Regions from separate parts of the Homo sapiens genome. Here region 1 is linked to region 2. Evidence: promoter capture Hi-C in human tissues and cell types (Jung and others, 2019). All regions are on one chromosome and are shown on one strand. Each heading gives the region's core, a stretch centred on a gene start or on the middle of the fragment in contact. The rest is flanking DNA. Distances are from core to core; before and after follow the strand shown. Region 1 holds the start of BAIAP2L2 (BAR/IMD domain containing adaptor protein 2 like 2). Region 2 holds the start of TST (thiosulfate sulfurtransferase).

What was found. The method cuts DNA at HindIII sites, captures the fragments that hold promoters and counts their contacts. A contact is called where the count stands out against the background at its distance.
Region 1: a contact is called between the fragment with the promoter of BAIAP2L2 here and the fragment with the promoter of TST in region 2, in 1 of the 25 tissues and cell types used here (heart right ventricle).

The regions. Positions count from the first base shown.
Region 1 is chr22:38,105,081-38,112,249 of GRCh38, forward strand. It overlaps BAIAP2L2 (BAR/IMD domain containing adaptor protein 2 like 2), which reads right to left and starts at 5,604. Exons shown (of 14, transcript NM_025045.6): 1 at 5,395-5,604; 2 at 4,053-4,128; 3 at 3,175-3,261; 4 at 2,772-2,833. The coding sequence starts at 5,445. PLA2G6 (phospholipase A2 group VI) reads right to left here. Exons shown (of 17, transcript NM_003560.4): 17 at 6,415-7,169. The coding sequence ends at 7,081. The HindIII fragment of the contact is 15,386 bases long and covers 1-7,169 here.
Region 2 is chr22:37,015,483-37,021,784 of GRCh38, forward strand. TST (thiosulfate sulfurtransferase) reads right to left here and starts at 3,965. Exons shown (of 3, transcript NM_003312.6): 1 at 3,918-3,965; 2 at 2,656-3,271. The coding sequence starts at 3,250. MPST (mercaptopyruvate sulfurtransferase) reads left to right here and starts at 4,260. Exons shown (of 3, transcript NM_021126.8): 1 at 4,260-4,390. The coding sequence starts at 4,355. RefSeq lists enhancers at 2,508-3,483, 3,512-4,013 and silencers at 3,487-3,546, 3,707-4,096, 4,127-4,246, 4,257-4,576. The HindIII fragment of the contact is 8,246 bases long and covers 1-6,302 here.

The DNA.
Region 1 (7,169 bases), core at 4,354-6,853, 1.1 Mb after region 2:
ACATTTTTTAAAACATTCTAAGTCAGATCCTGTCCCTCCTTGGCTCAAGACCCTCCGAAGGTGTCCCTTTCACTGAGAGGAAGGGCCAGAGTCCCGCCAGGGCCTGCAGAGTCAGGACCTGTTAATGGCTGGTCATCTGAGACTTGCCCTCTACTGCAGCCTTCGGTCTTTCCACAAGCTGTCCTTTCTGTCCAGATTGCCCTTCCCCCAGATGTATTCCTGGCTAATGCCCTTACCTCCTTCAGCCCTTTTTCTTTTCTTTTTTTTTTTTTTTTTTTTGAGACAGAGTCTCACCGTCACCCAGGCTGGAGTGCTGTGGTGCGATCTCTGCTCACTGCAACCTCCGCTTCCCAGGTTCAAGCGATTCTCCTGCCTCAGCCTCCCGAGTAGCTGGGATTACAGGCGCCCGCCACCACATGCGCGGCTAATTTTTTGTATTTTTAGTAGAGACAAGGTTTCACCATGTTGGCCAGGTTAGTCTCGAACTCCTGACCTCAGGTGATCCGCCCACCTCGGCCTCCCAAAGTGCTGGGATTACAAGCGTGAGCCACTGCGCCGGGACCTTTAGGCCTTTTTCAGTGTCACCTCGTCTGTTAAAAACTGCACCCCCCAAAGACATCCCCTCCCTGCTCTACTTTTCTCCTAGTGTATTTTGCATGGAACGTGTTACGTATCGATTCACTTACTCACTGTGGGTTTTTCTGGCTCCCTCTTTGGCATGGCAGGGGTTTTTGTCTGCTGTATTCCCGCGGCCTACCACAGTGCCTGGCACAGGGCAGTCAGTAGGGATCAAATAAATGAGCTGCAGGTGGGGGTGGCCTCTGGCACTGTTCTGTCTGGTATGATTCTGGCCAGTGGACCTGCCCAGTTATCACAGCTGAGATGCCACTGCCTGGAGAGGACAGCTCTCCTTACAGAGTGGGCCTGGGTGACACTCATCCCTGCCCAGCCCAGGTGTGCCACAAGTGACAAGGACAGCCATTGAACACAAGGACAGGAACCCACAGGCTCCATAACTCCGTGCCCACATCCAAGGGGGTGGCAGGGGCTTAATGCTACATCCTAAAGTGCCCAAGGAGTCCACGGAGCCCAGGGGCCTTGGGGCCTTGTTGTGTGTGCGTGGGATGTGCATTTACTAATAGAAAGATTGTTCCCCCGCCAGGCGCGGTGGCTCACGGCTGTAATCCCAGCACTTTGGGAGGCCGAGGCGGGCAGATCACTTGAGGTCAGGAGTTCAAGACCAGCCTGGCCAACATGGTGAAACCCCGTCTCTGCAAAAAAATAAAAAAATTAGCCAGGCATGATGACAGGTGCCTGTAATCCCAGCCGCTCGGGAGGCTGAGGCAGGGGAATGGCATGAACCCAGGAGGCGGAGGTTGCAGTGAGCTGAGATTGTGACACTGCACTCCAGCCTGGACGACAGAGCAAGACTCCGTCTCAAAAAAATTAAAAAAAAAAAAAAAAAAAAGATTGTTCCCCATGCCCAACTGACTAGTATTTTATGGTATCCCCCAAAGAGCACCCTGACTTCCAGGGGCTCCCCTTCACACATTGGAGGGAGAACAATTAGTTAAAATTTCCTTCCGAACCTTCCCACTTGCCTCACCACCAGGCCCCACCCCACCTCTCCCACTCAGCCCCTGCGCCCAAGCCCTGGCTCATGCCTGCCTGCTGCCCGCTCATGGCTGTGCGCAGCCCGCTGCCATGCTCCCTTGGAAAGCCCTCTCTTCTCTCCATCTAGCCAAGCTGACTCCCTCAGCTCTTTTCTTTCCCCTGTGTCACTGAAGCCCTGCTTGGCGGAAGGCCCTGGAGCTACGGAGAGGAAGGAAGGCTCTGCGGCGCTCCCAGTCTTGGGAGGGATAGGGGCAGGTGAGTTAACTTCTGGTTATCATAGCTAAGGTATCCAGGGGCAGTAAGTAGGGGCCAGGGCAAACGGTTTATGCTTATTAATTCACGTCATCCTCTCAAGAACCCTGGGAGGCAGTTATTATGATTCTCTCCATTCCTCAGATAGGTAAGTGGAGGCATAGAGTCCAAGGTCACAAAACTAGTCACTGGTGAAGCTGGGCTTTGAACCCACCACGAGCTAAGAACGGACAGAATCATCTGTTGGAGTCCAGGGGGAGGGGTGACTGGACTTGCCCCAGGGAGTCAGAGGAGGCTTTGGGAAGGAGGGGACAGCTGCTTCCCAACTGGACGGCAGGGGGAGGGACCGGTGGCTCTAGGCTGAGAGGACAGCAGGACAGCAGCCCCGCAGCGGGGACACCAGCAGAGGGCCCACTCTTCCGGGGGGCTGGGCTGTGTTGGGGGTGTCAGGAGAAGCTGCTGGATCGACAGAGCCAGGGACCCCTCACTGAGAAGCCTGTGTTCAGTTCTACGGGCAGTGGGGCCGTGGAACGGTTCTGCTCCTGGGAGTGACATGGTCAGGTCCATGTGGCTGCTCCCTGGGAGGCTGCAGTGAGGAGGGCTGCAGTGAAAGGACCTTTCTCTTCCTTGGGCCTCCATTCACTCTGGCATCTCAGGCAATGACTAGCTCTTTGAGACTCAGTTTCTTCCTCTATAAAATGGAGGCAGAAATGCCACCAGCCTCCTAGGGCTGCTAGAGGCTTGAACGACTATTGCAGGGAACCGTGCCCCACAGAGCCGGGTGCTGGGAAGGGCAGCCACGGTCATCCTCCCTGGGAAGGGCATCTGGTAGGCTGGGCCCTCTCCTTGGAACATAGCCCACTTTCCTCGAGTGACCCCTCCAGGCCCTGGGGCCTGATACTCACCACCACCTCCAGGTCAGAGTTCAAGTGCCGCTGGGTGTCAGACATCTGCACCAAGATCTCCCCTGGAGGCATGGATGCAGCTGTGGCTTTGGTGTGTGGCAGCCTGCCCCGCCCACCCACCACCCTCTTCCGCTGAAAGCCAACAGAGGGCCTGCCCGAGACTGGATTTTGGGACCAAAGTCCGGGAACTTCCCATATGGTTCTCTGGGAGCCAGGCCATGTGTGTCCCAGCCTGGGAGCAGCCCGGCAGGGAGTGGTGGCGGGGAGCCTGGGCCCCAGAACAAGAGTCTGGCTCTGGGCCCTGGGCTGAAAGGCCTGTGTCAGGGACTCGGGACATCCTGGAAGGGCAAGGGTGCAAAAGGAGGGCCCAAGAATGGGGTCTGCTGTGGAGGGGGAGCCTCACCCAGAATCTGTGAGGTGGGGCTCTGCAGGGCACGCTCCCCAATCTTCTGGATGGCACTGAAGTAGACCTCGGCCGCCTCGGACAGAGCTGTGGACCAGAAGGGACAGGTCTGGTCCAGCCCTGCCTCTGCCCCACCCTTCTGGAGGCTCTTTTCATCTGGAGGGGACTGTGTCTGTCCTGGGTGGGGTGTGGGCATCTGTGTGTGCCCCTGAGGAGGGTGTGACCAGTTGAGCTGTGAAACTCAGGTGCAGGGGCATAAGGTGAGGGCTGGGGGCAGGGAGGTGGCGTGGAAAGCATCTAAGAAGCAGGGGGATGGGAGGCCCTGAGGTTCAGGGTTGATCAGCACTGGTGGGTAGTGGGGTGCTATTGGCAGGTATGAGCGGCCACAGCGGACGGGTACAAGGGTTTGCACGGGGACCGAGTGAATGTCAAGGCCAGCTGCAGGGTGTGTGGGTGGTGGCCAGTTGAAGTGAGGAAGCCAGCTGCTGTGTGAGCCTGGGTGCAGAGGTGGGACTGAGTATAGGGGTGGGTTCAGCTGGTGGCATCCAGGTGACGCCTAGAAATGTATGCACTGTCAGGGGCTGCCCTGGGGCTGTGTGGGCCTGCAGGGCCTGGTACTGCATCATGGGAGTGTCTGGAGGCACCTGAAGGAGGGGGCAATGAGGGGTGCTGGGTGTGGACTGGGGTGCGTGGGCACAGGAGAGTGGGGGTGCATAAGGCCTCTCTGGCTGCAGAGGTGTGAGGGTGAGGGTGGTGGGTAGGAGGGTGTAGGGTTGAGGATGAACAGGTGTGGGATGCAGAGAATCTGGGAGGGGCCTGGGTGGGTGGGAACAGCAGAGGCCCAGGGCTGGGGCTCGGTGGCCCGGGCAGGCACTCACCGTGGAAGGCACGCAGGTAGTTGTTGCCCAGGTACACCAGGTTCTCCAGGGCGGGGTTAAACTGCTCCATGATGCTCTGGACCCCAGGGTCAGGGGAGGAAAAAGGTGTAGAGATGGGGGAGCGAGAAGGAACCACGGATGGAGTCAAGTCACCAGGCGTCAGGGACAGGGCACCCCCAGCCCAGTGAGAAGCCCCAGACTTTGGGGGGCCCATCTACAAACCTAGGCTCACCCAGAATCCTGGCTCTTGGCTGCAGGGACCTCAGAGCCCATCTTTTGGGGTCCTGTTCTAAGCTGTGGTCCCCTCACAGCCAGCTCCCGCTTACGTCTGCTCTGGCGGGACCGAGGTGCCTCCCGAGATGGTGCACCTGGAAGGTTCTCCTCCTCCCGCTGGGCAGAAGCTGGCCCGCCTGCTGTGGTCCCCACTGGGCACGGCTCAGCCCTGCCCTGTGTCCAGGCCTTGCCGGGCTACACGCCTGGGGCTGCCAACAGTCACCCCCGGGGCAAGGGCAGCTCTCGCCCTCCTCCGAGAACAGCCCCCCATGGGCAAGGCTGTGGCTGGATTAGTGTGGGCCTCCTCGGGCTGGGGCCGGGCAGAGAGCTCCCCGGATGGTGAAGACGGGCCTGGACTTGGGCCTGGACTTGGACTTGGGTCTCGGTTCAAATCCCAGCAGCACCTCTTCCTCCCTCCGTGACCTTGAATGAGCTGTTTAACCTCTTTGGTCTCAGTTTTCTCATCTATCAAGCAGGGTGGTCATTTTCCACCTCACAGGTGGGTGGTGTGAGGCCTCCAGGTGAAAGGGTCCTGCACACAGGAGGCGCTCAATAAATGTCTGTGGCGGCTGCAACAACCCCCCGGGGGTGAAGTAGGAAGTCTGAGGGGCTCAGAAATGAGAGAGACAGAGACAGGGAGAGACAGAGAGAGAGAGAGAGACAGAGAGAGAGAGAGACAGAGAGAGAGAGAGACAGAGAGAGGGAGAGAGAGAGGGAGAGAGAGAGAGAGAGAGAGAGAGAGAGGGAGAGACAGAGAGAGAGAGGGAGGGTCTTTCTTTATTCCCAGGCCGGGCAGCCAGGCCCTTCTCATCCAGACTCAACTCTCCCCACCCTGGGCCTTGGGCTCCCTCCTGCCTTGTCCAGCATCTGGGAGTTGGGGGTTCCCGCTGTATGGCTGAGTGCTCTCGGGGATCCTTACCCCCGTACCCACCCCTGGCCCAGCCTGGCTCCAGGCTTCCCTTTCCAGGACATCTGTAGCCCCGGCTGGCCCTCCGTCCTCCAGAGCGGGCCTGATTTCTGTGCCCTGGGAGGAGGGGCTCAGGCCTGGCTTGGCCACCCATGTGCTCACCTTGTAGATGGCCATGGTGGACCTGTAGAACTGGTCCATCTCGGGGGCCATGGAGGGGCTGTCCCGGGTCTGAGCAGGAGGCTGGGAGCTGGTGGCGATGGCACAGCCGGGAGCAGTGGTAGGTAGTCCCTCAGGTGCCCACGACTCAGCTGGCAGCGAGGAAGCCTCGGAGAGGGACCTGGAGATGGAGGCCTGCCTCAGAGGAGTGGCAGCTTAATTATTCACCAACTCGGGATGTCAGAATGTGATCTGGGGCGTAACCAGATCCGGCAGGGAAGGCATCCTGTGCCGGGCAGGCTCGTGTGACCTGCCCTTCAATTATTCACCCCTTGGAGCTGTGGGCTGATACAAGTGCCCATGTGGATGAGCCCCCTCCTGGGTCACCCCCTCCTCAAGGACCCCAACCCTGGGGGGCCCCGCCCTCCCACCTGCCTATACCAGGCATTGCCCACCTTACTGGGCGGGCGCTGCCCGATGCCCTCCCCCAGGACTCTCTCTGCCAGACCCAGCAGCAGCAGCCCCTGGAGGGGAACGCCGCTTTACTTCTCACTGTCCTCAGGCCTGCGGCTCACAGTGGGGCCACGCCCTCTGAGCTTGGCTCCCACAGCCGCTCTGGCCCGCCCAGCTCCTCCACTTGCCGGAGCAGGAGCAGCACAAACGCTGGAGTTGCCCAGCCCTGGGCAGACCTCGGCCCTGCACACGCGCTGCCTGTCCACGCGGAGTCCCCGGCCTCTCTGGGTGACAAATGGGGCTCTCCCTGGTCCTCCAAGATGAAGTTGAAGATTGTGGCCCTCCTTGGGCCTGCCGGGGGTATGTGGGCCTGGCAGCTGCCTCTGCATACCCTAAGGGCCGGTTTAGGGGAGGCCTAGAGGAAAGAGGAGGTGTCCCTGCCCAGGGATCCTGGAAAACAGAGTGTCCGGGTACAAAGGAAAAGTCCGGTCAAGGCCAAGGGTCAAGGCCGAGGGGAGCCGGGGGTCAGGGGAACAGGTGGATCTCACACCACTGCACACACAACACAGGTGAACTTGAATCCAAATGATTTATTTCAGTTTTGGCTCTTAAGCCACTTCCATTGGGAAGAAGAAACTCCCAGGAGTGACCTTTGAGAGCTGAGGGTTCTCGGGGTGGGGCAGTGTGAGGGGCTGGGCCAGTGTGAGGGGCAAAGTCCAACGGGCATCCCACTCCTGCGGCCTGGGCTTTCCCAGCTGATGGGGTGGGGGACACCCATTTCTTTAGTCCCAGCCCCCAGGGAACGGAGCAGAGGGCAGAGGGAGTGGGCTGCACCCACCAGGAAGCCTGGGAGTGCCCTTGCTGGGGGCTGGGGCAGAGGCAGCCCGGCAGGCCCTCAGGGAGGCTGGGGCTGGGGGCAGGGGTACGGTTGTGCCCGGGTACCCTTAATGTTTGAGCTGATGGGGGAGTCAGTTGTCCTTGACAGTCAGGGAAAGGGGCCAAAGGGGGCTCTAGACTTTCCCAGCCTGGAATGACAGAAAGTGCTGGAAGGCGGGGTTAGTGGGAGACAGGCCTTCAGGACCAGCCTCGGGCAGGCAGCTTGGCATTCTCCCAGGCCTGGTCTATGGACTCAGAGGTGCCTGGGCCCAGATCTGCCCGGGAGGGCAGTGGCTGGGCTTGGCCTGGCAGGGGCTGAATGGACGAGGTCAGCTGGGGCCGGTGAGAGGCTGGGGACCCTCAGGGTGAGAGCAGCAGCTGGATGAGCTTCTGGAACTCCTCGCGGTGCTCATAGATGTAGACCTCGGTCTCCCAGAGGGCGTTGACCA
Region 2 (6,302 bases), core at 2,715-5,214:
CTAAGCATCAGTATCACACCTGGATGGAACCTCAGATCTGGCTGACTCCAGGACTAAGAGCTTGTGGAGGCACAAAACTACAGCCAAAGAGGAAGGCGCTTGCCTAAGGTGAGCAGGAAGTGGCCGCCAGGTGTCTAAGCTCTGCTTCTCGCTCCATTTAGGGTCATTCCTTCCAGAGATGATCAGGGCCAATGCCTGACCCCCAGGTCTGCCACCCCCATGCCCCTGTGTGTTACATCTGGACCGCTGAACCTACAGGGTGCCTCCCTGATCCCACACCACGCTGGGAACCATAAACTTGGCAGAGCCTCATGTGCCTTTGTGTCCCCAAAATATCTTGTATGGGAGGCCAGCAAAGCCTCTTGGAGGAGGGGGTTGGGGGGGAAGTGCCACACCCTCCAGGATTTGTATCGTTCCTTACCCTTCTTGAAATCCCTTTCCAGCCACTGCTACTTTTTTTTTTTTTTTTTTTTTTTTTTGAGACAGAGTCTTGTTCTGTTGCCCAGGCTGGAGTGCAGTGGCGCGATCTTGGCTCACTGCAACCTCCACCTCCCGGGTTCAAGCGATTCTCCTGCCTCAGCCTCCCAAGTAGCTAGGATTACAGGCACGTACCACCAACGCCTGGCTAATTTTTTTTTCATTTTAGTAGCGACGGGGTTTCACCATGTTGGTCAGGCTGGTCTCGAACTCCCGAGCTCATGATCCGCCCACCTTGGTCTCCCAAGGTGCTGGGATTACAGGCGTGAGCCACCACGCCCGGCCGCCACTGCTACATTTAAACAAATGCATACTCATGTGGGTAGGGCTGGCGTGACTCTTCTCATTTTATGATAAGGAAACCCAGAGAGGCCAAGCAACTGGACTGAGGTCACTCCAAGGAGGAGTGGCTGAGCTGAAATGAGAATCCATGTTCCCTGATGCTCCTGAGGGAAACTGAAGGAGGTGTGAACACAATTACAGAGGAGGAACTTCAGCATCCCGGGCCTTCAGGAGGCATTACCCACTGCAGGCCATTCTCCTCCTCTGAGCCTCAGTTTCCTCATCTGTAAAATGGGTGAGGACATTGGGCCTGGCACCTCCAAGCTGTCCCTTCCACTTATTTCTTAGGTTGCTTCAGGGCAGGCTGGGAAGCAGCAAGAGAACCAATTCCACTGATCCTCCCCCATGACAGCTTAAATCCCAAGGAGAAGAGGCGTCTTGAACCAAGGCCAGGAGAGGGCTGCAGGCGTTCCCAGCCAGGATTCTCTGGGAGGTGCCAAATGAACTTGAATCTTCAACTCCAGACCTTCAGAGAGCAAGCAGGCAAGAAAAATATGGGGCCTGGAAAAAGCTGCGCTGGAAAGGGCAGAGACCCTGCTGTCCTGGCTCTGTCACTAACTAGCTATGCGGCCTTGGCCCCTGCCTCTGTGCACCTCAGTCTCCCCTCTGTCAGGTGAGGTCACCGTTCAGGCCCTCCAGCTCTAAGAGTGTGCAGAACAGTTTTCCCAGCATTCTCTCTGTAGGAGGTACAGACAGGAAGAGATGTTTTTCAACAAGTCAGGCAAAATGTTGCACACGAGTTAGATTCTGTAGAGAAGGAGCTCTGACTGAGGAAAGAGCCACCAAGGAGGTGCCCAGAGACAAGAGAGGGCCCTGCTCCTGGAAATGGCCAGGCAGGGACTGGAGGGCACTCAGCAGGAGTGATGGCAGCGAGACGGCAGTCCTGCCTCTAGAAAAGGGAAGACCTCCGAGGTTCTGTCTGGCTAGGAGGTTCTAGAACTCAGCATTTCCTCTCCTGAGGCTCTCCCCAACCCTCAAGCAGTATCCAATCCACCTGGCCTTCCCTTCCACAGGAGGGGAACTTCTGAGTCGCCTTCCTGGGGCAACTAGCAGAGGGGACTCCCTCCTGGCCCTGGGAAGTAGGGGTAGGGCAGCATTGGGTGCGTCCTGGTTTATAGCCCTGGTTTGAAACAAGGCAGCATTGGATTCGAATCCTGCCTTCCACCACTTTATGTCCTGGCATCTCAGTCCCCCCACCCCCCGCTGCCAAAACAGGGGCATTGAGCTTTGTTCGCTGAGATAATGCGGTGCCAAGTGTCTGGCATGAAATGGCAGCTGCTGTTACAACTCTGCCGACGGGCTGCAGCTGCCTGGAAAGGTTATGGAACCTTTGCAAACAGCAGGCAGGGGCCCCAGGAGAGCTAGATTTGGGGAGAGGGGGATCCTGCGGGGAGGGACACTGTTGATGTCTATAAGGGTTTCTGCGGGACGAGAGAGGCCTGGAGAAGCTGGATGTGTCCGTGGGAGGTTTCTGTACAGCAATGCAAACGCTGGCTCAGGGGCATGACACCCTTAGGTATATCCTAGTACATGTGGGGCAGCTGGTGCCTGGGAGTGGAGGTGGTGGACATGTCACCAGTGACTTCTGCTCACACAGATGCTAGGTGGCTTCTTAGCACATGGCTATGAGGACACATTCTTGGGTCCTTGTGCATCCAAGCTGAAAAAGCCTTTAGGTTTGTCTCCACTTTCTGGTTTTATCGATGGAAAGACTGAGGCCTACATGGGAGGATTGAAGGCATGGGACGGACCCTGGAGAGGGTCCCAGTCATCCTTACTCCCTATCCTTCCATGGGGCAATACTCCCCAGGGACCACCCAGCACTGGGACACCTACCTACTGCATCCGGCTCCGGCTCGGTGCCCAGGAACCGCCCTTGAGACCTTGAATCCACCAGCTGGAACCTCTTAGATTCAAGGTTCTCCAGCACCTGCTCGTAGGTCTTGAGCAGGGAGCGGTCCAGTGTGGCTTTGAAGACGGCCGGTTCTGGGCGTGAGGGCTCGGATGTCACCGGGTGGCCCTCCTTCAGCCAGTTCCGGAAGCCACCATTGAGCACTGATACGGTGCGGTGGCCAAACACACGGAACATCCACCAGACCCGGGGAGCATAGAAGCTGCCCAGGTGTTCACCATCATACACCACCACGTGCGTGTGGTTGCTGATGCCCAGGCGGCCCACATACTCGGCGAAGCCAGCCTCGCTGGGCAGCATCATCTCGTAGGGCGACGCCGTGTCCCGGCACTCTTCTATGTCAAAGAAAGAGGCGCCGGGTACGTGGCGCTCGAGGTACTCCTTGCGGGCCTCTCGGGTGCCTGGTGAGTACCAGGACGCGTCCAGCACCCGCAGGCCGGGCCCCAGCTTGCCAGTCCTGATGGACTCCGCCAGCCACTTGGTGGAGACCAGCGCCCGGTAGAGCACCTGATGAACCATGGCTTCAGCTCTGCGTGTCACCTGGCACGGGTGGGAACCAGGAAAGAGAGACAGGCGTGAGGAAGGAAGTCGGTGTGTGCAGTAGGGTGAGGCCTGGGAGAAGCTCTTTCTCCCTCCGCACTCCCCCGGGTTCCTTGTTTACAGCAAGCCAGCGAGGCTGGGGCGTGCAGCGGGATAAGTTTGCAGATTCCCTCTGGAAAGCCGGCCCCGCCCCTCCCAGCCGGCCCGGGGGCCCAGCGCAGAAGCGGGTGGGGCAAGAGTTTCCGAGGACTCCAAGTAGGGGCGCTTCCTGGGGCGGGGATCTGGCTCCTAGAAGTTACAGTACTCGATCCCGCCAGGAAAGAGCAATGAAAGCATGCCCGGGATGGGGGGCGATGGCATCTTGGGCTTAGAATCCCCTTTCCTTCCAAGGCAGAGGGGGTGGGCGCACGGCTAGGAAGCTCCGCGAGCCGCGCACACGCCATCGCCTGCGGCCTCCCCAGGCAGCCCGAGCTCGCCCGCCTCCAGAGTGCCCGAGTCCGGCCCGTAGCTCGCTGCCCTCTGCCCTAGGTGGATCAGGGGTTCCCGGGGCACCCCGTCCCACTCTCGCAACGCTATCCTTCCCCGGGCAGCAGGTGGCCCGACCGGCGGCCCAGGCGCCCGGCCGCTGCCCCCGCCCCGCACTCACTCGCCCCGGACGCCGCGCTGGCGCTCGCCCCGGCCGGCTGGAGAAGTTGGCCGGTTCAAACCCCCGGCCGCAGCTCCCCAGGCGGCGCGCACCATCGCGCCACCGCCAGAGGGGGACCCTGCGCCGCCCGCCGCCATCCCGCGCCTCCCCCGCGCGGCCGCTTCGCGCCCGGCACCTGCCAACCTCGCGCGCGGGGCCTCCGGGACCCGCGGGGGTCTGAGGGGGACGCCGGGTGGCGCGGGGGCCGCGCGGGCCTGGGCTGGGCGGAGCGGGCGTACCCCCACGGCCCGGCCAGTGGAAGGCGCGGGCAGCAGCGGCTCCGAGTGGCCGCGGCGGTGGGCTGTGCCGGAGTCTCCTCCCTTTGGTCCGCTGCAGGTTGGTGGCGGGAGGAGGGGACAGCTGCGGGCGCGGGGAGGGGGCGCCGCGCCGCGGGGGCCATGGCGGAGCCAGGAAGCCGGGAGTCCGAGACCCGGGTAACTGCCGCGGCGTGGCGGCTTGCCTTTCTGGAGGGGGAGGGAGTGGCTCTTTGGGGGTGCTCGGCGCGGGGCTCCCGCGCGGGACCTGGGCGGAAGAGGGGGCTTAGTCTAGGAGAGAAGGCGCGCCGCTACGTTGGCACTAAGGGTGACTGTCCGCTTGGGGCGGCCTGCCGGGTGGGGTCGTGGCGAGTGGCGGGTGGGGAGCCTTGGGTGGAAGTGGGTGACCTGGTGGCACCAGAGAGGGCGGGGGAGAGAGAGGAGGACAGGGAGACGAGACCCCGCTGACCCAGAGGCCCCAGGAAGAGACACTAGCCAATAACTTGTTAGTGAGTGAAAGGAACTAACATTGTCCAGCCCTGCTTGGTGTGGCACTTTGCTGGGTACTCCCGTGGTGTGACTTAATTCCCACAATAACCCTGAGGAGTAGGCCAGAAACTTACTAAGACAGGAGAGAGCGGCAGAGCGAGTTGCTGGAGGACACACCCAGAGTTGAGGCCGGGCCTGATCCCTGGTCTGAAGCCCACGTGGTACCAGCTGCCTTTGTTTACCTGGCTCTTCCCTGAAGGTTCATGCTTTTTAAAAAATTGCCTGTTTTGAACTTAGCCCGTTTAATCATAAGTTGATGTAATTCAATTTTTAATAATAGCTGTATTTAACAACCAGTTGGCAAAATTCCTGAAAAGCTCGCCATGGGCTCTTGCAAACTGGGGGACACCATTGCCCCTCCCTAGCTTTTGCAGAGGCCAGCCTGGAAGCTTTCCCTGTTTCCCAACCCTGACCTTTTGTTTTGTTTTGTTTTTTGAGACAGGCTGTGGTTCTGTGGCCCAGACTGGAGTGCAGTGGCGCCATCTCAGCTCACTGCAACCTCCGCCTCCCAGGCTCAAGCGATCCTCCCACCTTAGCCTCCCAAGTAGGTGGGACCACAGGCATGTGCCACCATTCCCGGCTAATTTTTAAATTTTTGGTAGAGATGGGGTTTCACCATGTTGTCCAGGCTGGTCTTGAACTCCTGGGCTCAAGTGATCTGCCCATCTCAGCCTCCCAAAGTGCTGAGATTACAGGCATGAGCCACCATCCCTGGCCTCATCCCTCTTTTTAAAAAAAGGTTTTGTTCTAAAATGCTCACAGCAATCCTCAAAGCCTAGTGTCTGGTGGTTGGGGGAGGGGGTGGGCAGGAGGGACCAGGCTGGGGAGGTCCAAGAGGAGCTCCCAAGCTCTGCTCCTCAAGGGGTACCCTGGATCCAGCCTGCGGCTCACGCTTGCTTCAGTGCAGCTGTGTATCCTTCTGACATGAGCCTGGGGCGGTTACGTCCTGGGGTCCTCCACTCCCAGGGCACCCTCACCTACAGTGATCCCGGCTTCTGAATCACACAGGCACCTGGTTTCTACCCCTCCCTGACACCCACAGCCTGCCTTCACACCCTCCTTTATGGCCCACAGACCTTTGTGAGAAGTGCCAATCAAGCAGGGAGACTGGGGCAGGGTGACCTCAGATCTCTGAAGTCCCACCAAGCCCTGAAATTCTAAGATTTTAGATTTGCTGCTGGCAGTTCCAGGGCCACCAATGAGAGTAATGGAAGAAATAATGCAATATTATTATTATTATTATTATTTTGAGATGGAGTCTCACTCTGTTGCCCAGGCTGGAGTGCAGTGGCGCGATCTCGGCTCACTGTAACCTCTGCCTCCCAGGTTCAAGCGATTCTCCTGCCTCAGCCTCCCGGGTAGCTGGGACTACAGGCTCATGCCACCATGCCCAGCTAATTTTTGTATTTTTAGTAGAGATGAGGTTTCACCATGTTAGTCAGGCTGGTCTTGAACTCTTGACCTCGTTATCCGCCCGCCTTGGCCTCCCGAAGTGCTGGGATTGCAGGTGTGAGCCACCACGCCCGACCTAAACCGTTTTTAA